2 separate regions of the Homo sapiens genome follow, and region 1 is linked to region 2. The links are contacts of gene promoters, found by promoter capture Hi-C in blood cells and fetal thymus (Javierre and others, 2016). All regions are on one chromosome and are shown on one strand. The core of a region is centred on a gene start or on the middle of the fragment in contact, and the rest is flanking DNA. Distances in the headings are between cores, read along the strand shown.

The links. Contacts are between HindIII fragments. The CHiCAGO score rates a contact against its expected background, and 5 or more counts as called.
Region 1: a fragment that was not itself captured here is called in contact with the fragment with the promoter of LALBA in region 2 in 1 of 17 cell types (megakaryocytes); the score reaches 5.2 in megakaryocytes.

What each region holds. Positions count from the first base shown.
Region 1 is chr12:48,239,985-48,242,808 of GRCh38, reverse strand. It overlaps a transcript of LOC102725258 not described here. Among named protein-coding and RNA genes, the nearest start is that of OR10AD1, 38 kb to the right of the region's middle. The HindIII fragment of the contact is 1,075 bases long and covers 818-1,892 here.
Region 2 is chr12:48,568,414-48,571,367 of GRCh38, reverse strand. It overlaps LALBA (lactalbumin alpha), which reads left to right and starts at 1,322. Exons shown (of 4, transcript NM_002289.3): 1 at 1,322-1,480; 2 at 2,128-2,286; 3 at 2,776-2,851. The coding sequence starts at 1,348. The HindIII fragment of the contact is 2,055 bases long and covers 173-2,227 here.

The DNA of each region.
Region 1 (2,824 bases), core at 106-2,605, 330 kb after region 2:
TGAAATATATTTCTTAAATAATAAGACTTGAAAGTCTAAATGACTCCTTGATCCAGGGGCAGCAGCATGAATATTATGTTAGCAGCATGAAAACAACATTCATCTCCTTGTACATCTCCTCAGAGCTCTTGGATGACCAGGTGCATCATCAATGGGTAGTAATATTTTGAAAGGAATCTATTTTTCTGAGCAGTAGGTCTCAACAGTGGACTTAAAGTATTCCATAAACCAGGCTATAACAGCTGTGCTGTCACTTAGGTTTTGTTGTTCCATTTATAGAGAGCACAGATAGAGCAGATTTAGTGTAATTCTTAAGGGCCCTAGGATTTTCAGAATGGTGAATGAGCATTGGCTTCAACTAAAAGTTAACAGGTGCATTAGTTCCTAACAAGAGAGTCAGCCTGTCCTTTGAAGATTTAAAACAATGCATTGACTTCTCCTCTATAGCTATGAAAGTCTTAGATGGCTTCTTCTTCCAATATAAGGATGTTTTGTCTATATTGAAAATCTTTTGTTTAGCATAGCCACCTTCATCATTGATCTTAGCTAGATCTTCTGGATAACTCGCAGCTTCTCCAACAGCACTTGCTGCCTTCCCCTACACTTTTATGTTTGTTCTTCTATCCAGACCATTAAAACGTTCTCCCTATTAGCAATAAGGCTGTTTCACTTTCTTATCATTTGTGTGTCCACTGGAGTAGCACTTTTAATTTCCTTCAAGAACATTTTCTTTGCATTCACCACTTGGCTAACTGTTTGGTGCAGGAAGCTAGCTTTCAGACTTTCCCAGCTTTCAACATGCCTTCCTCACTAAGCTTAGTCATTTCTAACTACTGACTTAAAGTAAGAGATGTGTGACTCTTCCTTTCATTGGAACACTTACAGGCCATTGTAGAGTTATTAATTGGCCTAACTTCAGTATTGCCATATCACAGGGACTAAGGAAGCCAAGGAGAGGTAGAGAGGGTGAGCAGCCAGTTAGTGAAGCAGTTAGAACAAATACATTTATTGTTTGTCTTCTTAGATGGTTGTGGTCCGTGATGCCCCAAAACAATTACAACAGTAACATCAAAAATACTAAAGGCAGATCACCATAACAGATAACAATAATAATAATAATAATAATAGTAATAAAAGTTTGAAATATTGTGAGACCTACCAAAATGTGACACAGAGACACAAAGTGAGCACATGCTGTTGGGAAAATGGTGCCAACAGACTTGCTTAATGCAGGGTTGCCACAAACCTTCAATTTGTAAAAAACTATCTGTGACGTGCAATAAAGCAAAGGACAAAAAACAAGGTATGTTTGTATCAATTTCACTTCCTAATACTATTTATGTCATTGATTAGATAACTCTTTAATTCAAGATCTCCCATATGATTACAGTATCTCATCCCCTTATCTTTGTTTATTTTTACCATCAGTACAATTTTTCAAGACAACATAAACAGCACTGTAGTTCACATTAACCATAGTCCTGCTAAGACTATTGAAAAAATCCAGTCTAATGCTCAGTCTTGCCATCATCAATGACAAAGTCCTTCTGTACAATTTCCTACAAATTCATCTTGTACAAATAACCACACTCTTAATATGCAGGTCCTAATCTATGTGTGGAGTAACTGGTCACTTTTCAACTATGTTTTCTCTCTACCTTTTAGGGTGTTTTTTTTTTTTTTTGGTGACAGAATGGGTATTTTTTTGTTTGTTTTTACAAATTATTTAAAGTACCTTCTAGGGGTGGCTACTGTCAGGAGAAGGAATCTATTCCAAGATTTGTTTGATATTTAATTTATTTGTAATTTAGATTGGGACTCTGGAGGGAAGATGATAAACAACTATCAAGTATTTAGGTGGAAAGAATAAGTGGATATGAGATCCATAAGCTTATCTGCTATCTCCCACTCATGTGGATGCTAGAGAAGTTTCCTTGTGAACAGAGCATGTACTTTTGCCTTTTCGATAGCAGTAAAAATGTGGCATGCCAAGCAAAATCCCTCAAAGTGTCAGTCAGATCATCATTAAATGTGAAGTGTAGTTCAGGGCTCCTCAATTGCAGAGATACGGAGAATTTGCAGTGGAAGAAACTACAAGAGGGCAAAATCTAGAATTGATGGAGAAAAGGGAAAGAAATCATATTTACCTCAAAAAAGGTCTAGATGATACAATAGAAAATACTATTATAAATTGACAAACTTGCCAAATTTGTCCATCACATGGTAAACAAAAGGTTAAACATAAATCTCAATTTTTGGTGAGGCTGGGACAACATAAATAAGACCAGAAGAAATGTAGGTAAGACATAGCCAGATATTTGATACCAGTATCCTTTTAGTTTCCATAACAATCTCAAAAGCTATTTAGACATTAATTCCATCAAGGCCTAAAGGGAGCAGACAAAGTATCCTAAAACGAATTCTCTTGTGAGCCTAAGTGATTAATTTTCAATATGTATATAAATTGTATATAAATATAAGTTCACATTTATTAAATTCATTACATCTTATATGTGATTAGATTATTTCAGTTATTTTAGAGTTTTCTATTTTTGCTTTTTTTATTATTCATTTCCTTATTCTGAGGGCTAATGTTCAGAGTTTTAAGTACAATATATGCTGAAAGAAGGTAAAGGAGATGTGATTTTCAATTAAATACATAAAGTATGTTTAAAAACCACTGGCATGATCTTATTATTATTTTTTTTATTTTACTTTAAGTTCTGGGATACATGTGCAGAATGTGCAGGCTTGTAACATAGGTATTTTTGCATCTGCTTAAGAGCCTGTCTTTTTTTCTCTTAATTTTAATATTTAAAGAAAT
Region 2 (2,954 bases), core at 73-2,572:
AGGTTTAGAGATGAGGACAAAGAAGACGAATGGTGGCATGAAGGAGCTAAGAGCTACTTGTCACCATGACATGAAGCTTCATGCCAGCAAATTAAAGGAGCTATTCAGAACTAGTATCCTCAACTCTACTTGCTCAGGGGCACTGACCTTATAGAGATTCCAGACATAAGCTTGTTCAGCCTTAAAGTCCAATCTTTCCACTGGCTTGGGTCCTTCCCACTTTCTGTGGCCAACTCTGAGGTTGTCTACAAGTTATTGGTCTTAGATTTATGTAATGTCTCAATGCCAGTGTAGTATTTGGTTATTTACGGTAGGAGTGGTTAGGGGTGGGGAATCTGATAATAGCTCGTAGGATAGCTAGATTCTTTTTTTTTTTTTTTTTTTTTAAAGATAGGGTCTCACTTTGTCTCCCAGGATGGATGGAGTGCAGTGGAGTGAACATGGCTCACTGCAGCCTCGACCTCCTGTGCTCAAGTGTTCCTCCTGCCTCAGCCCCTCAAGTAGCTGGGACTACAGGCACATGTCACCATGCCCAGCTAATTTTTTTTGTAGAGATGGGATTTTACCATGTTGCCCAGGCTGGTCTCGAGCTCCTGGGCTCAAGTGATCCACCAGACTCGGCCTCCCAAAATGCCGGGATTACAGGTGTGAGCCACTGTGCCTGGCCTAGATGCTTTCATACAGGCTTTTCAATTATGCATTTTCCTTAAGTAGGAAGTCTTAAGATCCAAGTTATATCGGATTGTTGTAGTCTACGTTCCCATATTCTATTCCTATTTCTGAGCCTTCAGTCATGAGCTACCATATTAAAGAACTAATTCTGGGCCTTGTTACATGGCTGGATTGGTTGGACAAGTGCCAGCTCTGATCCTGGGACTGTGGCATGTGATGACATACACCCCCTCTCCACATTCTGCATGTCTCTAGGGGGGAAGGGGGAAGCTCGGTATAGAACTTTATTGTATTTTCTGATTGCCTCACTTCTTATATTGCCCCCATGCCCTTCTTTGTTCCTCAAGTAACCAGAGACAGTGCTTCCCAGAACCAACCCTACAAGAAACAAAGGGCTAAACAAAGCCAAATGGGAAGCAGGATCATGGTTTGAACTCTTTCTGGCCAGAGAACAATACCTGCTATGGACTAGATACTGGGAGAGGGAAAGGAAAAGTAGGGTGAATTATGGAAGGAAGCTGGCAGGCTCAGCGTTTCTGTCTTGGCATGACCAGTCTCTCTTCATTCTCTTCCTAGATGTAGGGCTTGGTACCAGAGCCCCTGAGGCTTTCTGCATGAATATAAATAAATGAAACTGAGTGATGCTTCCATTTCAGGTTCTTGGGGGTAGCCAAAATGAGGTTCTTTGTCCCTCTGTTCCTGGTGGGCATCCTGTTCCCTGCCATCCTGGCCAAGCAATTCACAAAATGTGAGCTGTCCCAGCTGCTGAAAGACATAGATGGTTATGGAGGCATCGCTTTGCCTGAATGTGAGTTCCCTGCCTCTGTGTTTCATCCATTCCTCATACGCTTCTCTCCTCCATCCCCTCTTTCTTCCACTTCGCCCCTCCACTTTTACTTAATTATCTAATCATCCTCTTTTCTGCTCATTTGCATACTCTTTTATTTCATGTATGTATATATGTATGTATTTATTTATTTTTGAGGTGGAGTTTCGCTCTTGTTGCCCAGACTGGAGTGCAATGGTGTAATCTCGGCTCACTGCAACCTCCGCCTCCTCGGTTCAAGTGATTCTCCTGCCTCAGCCTCCCAAGTAGCTGGAATTACAGGCACCCACCACCATGCCTGGCTAATTTTGTATTTTTTGTAGAGACAGGGTTTCACCATGTTGGCCAGGCTGGTCTCAAACTTCTGACCTCAGGTGATCCGCCCTCCTCAGCCTCCCAAAGTGTTGGGATTACAAGCGTGAGCCATCATGCCTGGCCCCATTTATTTTCCTATCCTTTCTTTCTCTTATTGTCTGATTTTTTTTTGGAATTCTCCATCTCATCAAGAAACTCTGAGCTTTGCCATCTTTGGAGATTGGCTGGAAAGCATTTTTGTCTGAGAATTACAGTTCCTCCTTTATGCAGATCCTGTACATCTCTGTGGTATCTCTTTCTCATCTTTCCCTCAGTGATCTGTACCATGTTTCACACCAGTGGTTATGACACACAAGCCATAGTTGAAAACAATGAAAGCACGGAATATGGACTCTTCCAGATCAGTAATAAGCTTTGGTGCAAGAGCAGCCAGGTCCCTCAGTCAAGGAACATCTGTGACATCTCCTGTGACAGTGAGTAGCCCCTATAACCCTCTTTCTCTGTTTTTCTGAGGCCTGCCCTTGGGATAATCTCCTTTTTAGTGCCAAGCAGACCTCAGGCTTCATTGCCTTGGCTGGGCTCTATAAAAATTGTGGGACTTGAATTGGCAGTACTGAGTAAGAAGCTGTTTGGATTTTTCATGGTCATCAAATCCCCAGACAGTTCCTTGAGGTTCAGTGGTAGACAATCGGAGCTGTCTGAGAGTCTTGGAATCTGATTGTCTGCATTTTCAGGGTAAGTCAGTTGATGAAGCTGATGATTCCTCCAGAGATATCCCAGGGAAATGAAGGAAGTCCCTACCCAGGGTTAGACATTACCACATTGGTCCTTTCATATAGAAAGACAACAGGCACAAGCCTTGAGTTTAGAGAACCCACTGGATCCAGGGGTTAGGGGAACTCAGTGCCTTTCTGGGTAATACTTGTCAGCTGTCTCAATCCTTTCCCTGTAACTCCTGCCAGAGTTCCTGGATGATGACATTACTGATGACATAATGTGTGCCAAGAAGATCCTGGATATTAAAGGAATTGACTACTGGTGAATCCTTATTCTATTTTCTATTTCCCCATCCTCCTTCTCCTTACCCCATTAGCCCAGCACCCCTTTCCTCTTACCCTATCTCTTGGTCATTTAATCTAGA